Linked DNA regions of Homo sapiens: region 1 is linked to region 2. Evidence: promoter capture Hi-C in 16 types of primary human blood cells and fetal thymus (Javierre and others, 2016). All regions are on one chromosome and are shown on one strand. Each heading gives the region's core, a stretch centred on a gene start or on the middle of the fragment in contact. The rest is flanking DNA. Distances are from core to core; before and after follow the strand shown.

What was found. The method cuts DNA at HindIII sites, captures the fragments that hold promoters and counts their contacts. A CHiCAGO score of 5 or more calls a contact.
Region 1: the fragment with the promoter of NDUFA5 here is called in contact with the fragment with the promoter of GPR37 in region 2 in 7 of 17 cell types (M2 macrophages, M0 macrophages, M1 macrophages and 4 more); the score reaches 15.0 in M2 macrophages.

What each region holds. Positions count from the first base shown.
Region 1 is chr7:123,556,406-123,561,206 of GRCh38, forward strand. NDUFA5 (NADH:ubiquinone oxidoreductase subunit A5) reads right to left here and starts at 1,413. Exons shown (of 5, transcript NM_005000.5): 1 at 1,370-1,413; 2 at 999-1,043. The coding sequence starts at 1,390. RefSeq lists enhancers at 543-1,121, 686-1,885, 1,122-1,700, 1,441-1,490, 1,751-1,890. The HindIII fragment of the contact is 10,047 bases long and covers 1-2,411 here.
Region 2 is chr7:124,763,387-124,767,856 of GRCh38, forward strand. GPR37 (G protein-coupled receptor 37) reads right to left here and starts at 2,406. Exons shown (of 2, transcript NM_005302.5): 1 at 568-2,406. The coding sequence starts at 1,590. RefSeq lists a silencer at 2,418-2,547. The HindIII fragment of the contact is 5,609 bases long and covers 1-4,470 here.

The sequences.
Region 1 (4,801 bases), core at 163-2,662, 1.2 Mb before region 2:
TGCTCTCTCTTGGTGACAGAGTACAGGTCCAAAAGAAAAGGTCCAAGAACTAAATCCTGACTAACTCAAATTTTAAAAGTGGGCATAAGAGAAATAACCAGAAAAAGAGAAAGCCAAAGAGTAGGGGGAAAAAATCAGGAGACTGGGGGAGTCCTGAAGCCCAGTAAAGAAAGCGCATGATGGAAAAAGTGTCAAATGTGTCAAAAAAAAAAAAACGCTGCTATTAGGTCAATGAAGGTGAGAAACATAAGCTGACCATTGGATTTGGCAACATGGAGATAACTGGTGAACTTGAAAAGAGCGTGATGGAAAAAGTGTCAAATGTGTCAAAAAACGCTGCTATTAGGTCAATGAAGGTGAGAAATATGAGCTGACCATTGGATTTGGCAGCATGGAGATAATTGGTGAACTTGAAAAACGCCAAGGGTGACTGAGTGCATTCAAGGGTGAATAAGAAAGAAATTGGAGAAAATAGAGATAACTCTTTTGAGTTATCTGTAAAGTGAAGCAAAGAAATGGTGTGATTATAGAAGGGACAAGAAGAATAAAAAAATTTTGTGGGTTTTTTTGATGAAAACATTCGTGAATACAGATGGAAAAGACCTAACAGAAGGAAAAGGGGGCAGTACCTTTAGTAAGCCTAAATATATGTAATCCAACGCACCTAAGCAGAAACGGTAAGGCAAGGAGAAAAGATGGAAAACGGAGATATAAATTTGAGATGGCGCTGACAGAAGCAAGCACAAGTGAAGCCATGAAAATGTCAAGGAAAAAGTCAACAAGAAAACTGGCTTAATAAAGAGGTCATGGCAAAAATAAATAAAAATGTGACATCGGATCAACGAAGTAGGTGGACAGCGCCCGTGTCTCAAGAGCTCACGCGGCTTGTAATTAAGGGCTTGAAACATCTGTATCCCGTTAACCCTGCAATAAGCAAAGTGACAGGAATTTAGTCTTCCTTGGGAATTCAAGAACGAAGAAAGAACAAAGGTACATACCTCGTGAGGAGTATTGCACACAGCCAATCCCACAAGGCCAGTGGTCTGTTCAAAAACAAAACACGATTCATGCTGTTTACTACGGTTTCCATACATCCAGCACGCTAAGGAAATACAAAACCACGAATCCCCCGGCTAAAACTGGTCTAAAGCCAGCTACTGGTCTCTCAGTCTCGCTTGTTTGGAGCTTTTTTCCTGACTCTCGGAGCGGAACCACTAACCTGCCCTACCCGGTAAGGCATGCAGAACGAGTCCCCGAAAAGCACCGCCGAGCCCGCGACAGTAGGGGTCAACACCCGCGGGAAGTAGGGCTATCGGACTGAGTCTACCCCCACAGTCTAAATTCCAACAGTGACCTCCATTCGTCTCACCTTCTTCAGCACACCCGCCATGACAGCGCCAACGACTCGGTGACGCACAACCCTTTGGGAACAATTCTCAGACCTGCTCAATCGACCACCGAGGTCGCCACTCTGTCACCCTGGAAACAGCTTAGCTCCACCCCTTCAGGATCGCCAAAGGAGCAAAGACTCTGCCCCGCCCATCTTAAAAGAGAAAAATTGACGCATGCGCGATGGGCATACAAGCCTAAAGCTAAGCTAGAAGACGATTGGGGAAAGAAAGGGTTTCCCAGCTGTCTGTTCCTGTTCCTGCCACTGCTGACGGCTTGCCCAAAGATTGAGGGAAACACTCCCAACTACCAAAAAACTCCAGTCGCTGTAGGAACCTGCACTGTGCTTAACCGTTGATGCATTCCTCAACCTTCCTTTCTCAGTTTAGTAAAATGAAAGTGATAACGGAGCTTGAGCATCCTCTGAATTGATCTCTCAACAGCAAGTTAGTTCTTCGCACAAGGATATCAGTATTCTCTGTGTCTTACGAACCAAAGCCCTATGGAGTGTGAGGTCATTTTCCATCGCTCTTTTCGATTTCACTGGCTGAAATACATCATCTTATTTCCAGATGAAATGATATCAGACCATACCACTTTTTCCTACCTCCACAAACACTGACCACTCACTATGTGTCAGTTACTGGGACATAATTTCTAAAATGGGATTTCACATCCTGGAATTCAAAGAATAATGAAGAAGGCGTGTATTAATAAATAATTTGGTAACTGTTCTAAAAGAAGTTGATGCAAAGTGTGATGGTACCAGGGAAAAGGAAATAACTAAAAAGCGTGGGTGACTTTCTAAAAAGTCAGTAGGAGAAAAGAACAAATTGAGAAAACACAAGTACAAAGGAAAAGAGGTTAAAAATGTATATATAAATTCCAGGTGATTTTATGTGATTGGAAAGGTGGGTTTGATTGTTAAGGTAAACTGGTTAAGATTATGAAAGGTGTTGTTTGCCATTATACAAAATTTGAATTTTACTTTTTAAGGAATGGGAACAATGAGAAGACTTTTAAGCTTCTAAGTGACACCATCAAATTTATGTTTCAGATATACAAACAACTTAGGCAACAGTTGAAGAGAATGAGTTGGAAGAGATGAGGCCTTTCATTAGAGGCATGAGACTAGAAAAAATGAAAGCTAAACCAAAAGCAAACAGAAGAAAGGAAATATTAAAGATTAGAAAAGAAGGAGACAGAATATCAATAAAGAAAATCAATGAAACCAGGAATTGGTTCCCTAAAAGGATCAACAAAATTGGCAAACCTTTAGTGAAACTAAGAAAAAAAAGAGAGAAGATTTAATACAAGCAAGAATAAAAGAACCATCACTAATAGCCTTGCTGAAATAAACAGGAATAAGAAGGAATACTATGAACAACTATGCTTAAAAAAGATAAAGTAGATAAAATGGCCAGATTCCTAGAAAAACACAAACTACCTAAATCAACTCAAGAAGGCATAAAGAAAAATCTGACTAGATCTAACATAATTAAAGAAATTGAATTAGCAAGAAAAAAAAAAAAACCTATCCAGAAGGAAAAGCACAGGTCCAGATGGCTTCGCTGGTAAATTCCACTGAACAATTAAAGAATAACACTTAAGAAACTATTCCAAAATATAGAAGAGGAGGAAACAATTAACAACTAATTCTATAAGGCAAGTATTACTCTGATTCCAACCAGACAAAGAAATCAACAAGAAACAAAAACTTCAGCCAGGTGTGGACTCTGATTCCAACCAGACAAAGAAATCAACAAGAAAAGAAAACTTCGGCTGGGCCTGGTGGCTCATGCCTGTAATCCCAGCACTTTGGGAAGCTGAGGCAGGAGGATCACCTGAGGTCAAGGGTTTGAGACAGCCTGGCCAACATGACAAAACCTTCTCTCTACTAAAAATACAAAAATTAGCCAGGCCTTGTGGTGTGTGCCTGTAATCTCAGCTACTCTGGAGGCTGAGACAGGAGAATCACTCAAACTCAGGAGGCAGAGGTTGCAGTGAGCCAAGATTGGGCCATTGCACTCTAGCCTGGGTGACAGAGCAAGATTCCGTCTCACAAAAAAAAAAAAAAAAAAGGAAAGAAAAAAGAAAATAAAACTTCAGGCCAATATCCCTTATTAATAAACACAAAATACTCAGAAAAGTACTAGCAAACCAAATTCAGTAGCATATGAAAAAAAAATTATACACCACAAATAAATGATATTTATTTCAAAAATACAAAGTTGGTTTAACATCCCCAAATCAATTAATCTAATGTACCATTGAATACAGGACAAAAACTATATGATAATTTTAATAGATGCAGAAAAAGCATTGGACAAATTTCAACATGCTTTCATGATAAAAGCACACAACAAGCTGGGAAAAGAAGAGAAATTTTTCAACCTGATAAAGATGCTTAGAAAAACCCCACAACATCATACTTAAGAGTGAAAGGCAATTCTTTTCTGCTAAGATCATTCACAAGACAAATATTTTTCCACTCTCACCACTTCTATCCAACAATATATTGGAAATATTAGCTAAGGGAATTAGGCAAGAAAATAAAATGAATAAAAGTCATCCAGAAGAGACAGGAAAAAGTAAAACTATCTCTATTCACAGTTGCATAATCTTTTATATAGGATTATTAAGGAATACACACATACATACAATTAAAACAAATAACTTCAGCAAAGTTACATTATACGTGATCTATCAGGGTCAGCTCAGGCTGCCATAACAAAATACTATGGATGAGGTGGCTTAAACAACAGAAATGTATTTCTCACAGTTCTGAAGGCTGATAAGTTTAAGACCAAAGCCAGCAAGACAGATTTCATTCTGAGGCTTTTTCTTTTGGCTTATACTGGTTACCCTCTCATGGTATGCTCATATTTACCTCTTTTCGTGTGTGCTTGGGGTTGGGTCAGGGTGGAGAGCAAGATCTCTGGTGTCCCTTTTTATAAGGCCACTGTTACCATCATGACCTCATCTAAACCTAATTATCTCCCAAAGATTCCATCTCCAAATACCATTTTATTGAGGTTTAGAGCTGTAATATATGAAATCTGGGGGACATAGTCCATAGCAATCAATATACAAAAATATGCTCTAGTCTATTATAGCAATGAATAATCTGAAAATAAATTAAGAAAACAATTCTATTTACCATAGCATCAAAAAGAAATAAATCTAACAAAATAAGTGTAACACTTGTACACTGAAAAGTATTAAATATTGTTGGAAATACTAAAGATCTAAATAAATAGACATTTCTTATTTAATGATTTGAAGTCAATATTGGTCAGATGGCAATACTCAAGTTGATGTAGCGTTTCATCACAATTCCTATCAAAATCCCAGCTTCCTTTTTGCAGAAATTTTTCACAAAAGATTTGTCAGTAGCAGAAGGCACTGTTTG
Region 2 (4,470 bases), core at 1,156-3,655:
ACTTAAACTAATTTGAGAGGTTATTAATATATCATGAGGCCAACTGACAAACACAATTTTCTTTCTTTCTTTCTTTCAATAAAATGTTACTCCAACTTTGCTGTTTAAGAAAAAATGCAATAATCTTCTTGGGGGAAAACTCACATTGAAGCACTTGGTAACTAGTACACAAATGCTAATGTTTTTTTTTTTTTCCTTGTAGGCTCTGATGATGACAACCTTAGGCTGGCCATTTACTTAACCCTAAAATCTCTGACAAGTGCCAAATCAGAAATACGCATAACACCATATTCAGGGAGATAGATTTATACTCCAAACAATTCTGTATATTGTGAGATCATCCTTTTTTTACAGCCCAGGAGCAGATGAATTTGAAGGTGATTTCGCGAAGCTGCCTCTTTTTGTATATACATACATGCATAAATGATTGGAAAGAGAAATGAAAGAGGGCCCCAGATAAAAAGGAAAGGCGTTCAGCTAGATAGGTGCATCCAGCAGCAGTTCTCTGATGCTATAATCCCGAAAACAGATAAAGCCACTAGCTTGAGAGCCCCTGGAAGGCATTACCTCTATATAGGGCACGATCTTGCAGGAGAAGTCCTCCAGCAGCCACTTCTTGGTCAGCTCGTGGAAGATGACCAGCGGAAGGCAGAAGAAGATGATGAGAAAGTCCCAGAAGGCCAGGTTGGCCAAGAGGGAGTTGGAGATGCTCCGCATGTAGTAGTTGTGGCACACGATGCACATCACCGCCAGGTTGCCAATGATGCCGGTCCCGAAGATCACCACGGACAGACACATGACCGCGTAGGCTCCATAGGACTCCTGGGTCAGCGGGTAGAAGGGGTTCTTCAGTCTCACACGCCGGTTCGTGCTGTTTCCCCGGCGGGGACCCCCAGGCTCATGGATTCCTTCACCCAAGGATCCATTCTGGGCCAGCGCCCGGCCCGGGAGTGCAATTGTCCACCCTTCGTGCCCCGCCAGTCCATTGGCCGTCTTGGACAGGGGCTTGTGGTGGGAACCCTGGAGTTTCCCGGCTCTCCTTGGCCAGTAAAAAAGATCGCTGGCTCCGGGGACTGTCTTCACACTCTGCTCCTGGCTACGCCCGGAAATGCCAGCGCCTCTGGGACCCTTCTCTTCCTCCTCTGAGATCTGAAGGAAGAGCTGGAGGGCCGTGGGGTTCCCTCTCCCCAAAGTTTCAGAAGGCTCCTGACCCCGAGCACCTTTCCACCTCCAGGGGCCAGGTGGCCTGGTTGGAGGTCCCGGGGGTCCGGCTGCCGACGCCTCCGCCCCTCTGCCTGCAGCCGGGTCACGGCCCGGGGCCGCCGGCAGGTCCCAGGAGGGTCCCGCAAGAAACGCTGCCCCCTGCTCCTCCCTGGGTGCTCGGGCTCGCAGAACGTCTCTTGCAGAATTTCCCGGTCCCCAGGCGTCCCTGCCGCGGCGCTGGATCACTGTAGGTGCACAGCTCTCCCCCAGACAAGTTTCGTTTCTGGACGCAGGGGCGACCCCGAGGGCAGAAGAGGCAGACACCTTGAGCAGTAGCAGAAGCAGTAGCCGCGACATGCGGGCGAGAAGCGCGCCCGGGGCTCGCATGGCTTGGTGAGGGCACACCCGGCAGCCGCAGCTCCTGCTTAGTTAGGATCGACACCTGCTGCCGAAGTTGCTGCTGAGAGTTAGGCACATGTCACATACTCACCCCCGCCCGGGTAGCGGGGAACCGGAGATTAGGGTGATAGCGGAAGATCGGTCTTGGGGGTCACACACACGCCCCCTATAATCCTTCCTCCTTTGGCATCTTGTGCATTTCTCAGCCAAGTTGAGTCCCAGCAAGGTATGCCCTCCAAGGTTCCTAGAGGGAATAGGCTACTCCCGGTGGCTGACCTTGAAAAGTTGCAATCAACACCTGACTGTTGATTACTGTTGAGACTCGGGGGAGCCCAGACGAAGCCCCACACTCCTCACTGCCTTTGGGTGGGGGTGGTGGCCTTCTTGGTAACAGTTGCTCTGCCTATTTACATCCTTTCGACAGCGTTTGATCCAGTTGCAAGCCGAGGTCTCTAGAGGAAAAGAAAAACAAGTCCCCCTCCCCCAGACGACTCGCAGTCACAACCCCGCTCCCAGCTCGCTGGAAACACGTTGCAAACAGTCCGAAGCAGCGCTGATGCGCCGGCGAAACTCTTGCCCCACCTAACCCCAGCGACTTGCGAGCCTACTGCTGCCGAGGAGAAGCGGGATTCCAACCCCGCGGCCACTGCCAAAGTTGCTTCTCCTCCAGCTCAAAGTTGACGACGGGGCGAAGCAGGCTGCTGGACGGCGTGCCGCCGCAGAGAAGGAAATCGTGGGGAGAAGGGGGAGAAGAGGGCGCCGCTCGTCGGTGGACAGTGCCGCTAGCCGCGGGAGCTAGTCACTGCCACAGCGGGCTCAGCCCGGACGGGAAGGGTGGTGCCTGGAACCGCCGCGGGCCAGGCAGTGCGCGGCCGGGAAGGGGAGGTGGCCCGGCCTCGCCCCCGCGCTCCAGCCGCTGCGCGCGCCCGCGAAGCTCGACTCTCGGCTCGTTGCCTCCTCCCACTCCTTCGCCTCCTCCTCGGAGAGATACTGGTTTGTGGGGAGACGGGATCCCCTGGTGGTTCACCACTCACTAAACCCACACACGTTTCATTCAAGCCATTTGTAGCGGCTTCCACTCGGAGGAGCTGGGAGGGAACAAGGGCGGAGGCGCGGAGCCTGCGCGGCTCGAGGCTAGGGATGGGCGGGACAGGTTAATTCCCCAGCTGTCGAAACCAGCCTGACAGGTCCCCGAGCCCGGGCTAGGGGCGGGTGCGGGGCGGGAGTGGGGGGTGGGGGTGGGAACGGGAATATGAGAGCGGTCGGGGGAGGGAAGAGAGGAGGGTAGCAGGGGAGTGAGCAGCAGGGTCCCCTCCAATCTGTTGCGGCTGATGCGCATGCCCAGGTCTCAGCTCTGGGGGGCGAGGGGCGGGGCGGGGGAGGGGCGGACGGGGGTTGGGCCGCGGGGAGTAAGAAGGTGAAACCTCACCTCCTCAGGTATTCCCTAGAGATAGGAGAGAATGGGAGCTCAGAGGTGTCAGTCATAGAGAATTACCAGTTCCAGGATTGAGATGCAGAGCGAGAAAGCTCAGGATGCACCATTACCTTTAACACTGAGTTGGGAAGCATCCTACCATGGGTTACTTCGTACCACCCAGAGCATAGTGAGGTAGTTGTATTTGATGAAGTAGTGGGAAATGACTGGAGGCAGAAAATTACTCGAACAGCACTCCCAGCACGGCTGTCCATGCCTTTCCAACCTTTCTACTATATCCCACAACCCTGTCAAAACTGTCAGGGCATAGCTAATAAAATAGACAAATTAATGAAGAGAAAATGATAGAGGAAGAAATAAACACATTCTGAATTTTTTTTTTAAACAGAGTCTTGCTGTGTCGCCCAGGCTGGAGTGCAGTGGTGCGATCTCGACTCACTGCAACCTCCGCCTCCCCGGGTTCAAGCGATTCTCCTGCCTCAGCCTCCCAAGTAGCTGAGACTACAGGCACCCGCCACCATGCCCGGCTAATTTTTTTTGTATTTTTAGCAGAGACGGGGTTTCACTATGTTGGCCAGGCTGGTCTTGAGCTCCTGACCTCGTGATCCGCCCGCCTCGGCCTCCCAAAGCGCTGGCATTACAGGCGTGAGCCATCACACCCGGCCTGAATTTTTTTAAAGCAACACATCTAGAGAGGCAGGAGAAAACACAATGGAACATATGATACCAATTGTGGTAAATAGAATAATGCCCCCCCAAAAAAATGTCCGAATCCTAATTCCTAATACCTGTGAGTATGTTACCTTACAGAGCAAAAGGGATTTTGCCAATGCAATTCAGCTAAGACTCTTGAGATGGGGAGAGTATCGTGATTATCCAGGTGGGTACACTATAATCACAAGAGCCCTTACAAATGAGAGGCAGGAGGGTCAGAGTAAAAACAAACACAAGCCAAGTGATGTGGGCAATCTCTGGAAGCTAGAATGGGCATAAAAAAGGATCTACTAGCCCATTTGAGACTTCTGACCTCCATAACTGTAAGATAATGAATGTGTGTTGTTTTAAGCCACAAAATTTATGGTTATTTGTTGCAGTAGCAATAGTAAACTAATACACCATTAAATCTAAAAATGGAGACAACAGGAATAATTGTATAGAAAAACATAAACTACCAAAAATAGTTCAAGAAGAAAATTTTCAGAAACTGTAATCGAACTATAACATTAAAGAAATCAAATCATTCATCAAGATCTACCCAGAGGAAAGTGCTAGACCTTAGCATATCCTGCGGAATAAATATACATTTATACAAAATGTTTTAAAGCTACTCAGTTCATTTTGTGAAGGCAGAATAACCTTAATGTCAAAATCAGACAAAGCCAGAAATAGGAAAAAATATAAGCTAATAGCACACATTCATTTGTACATTAATT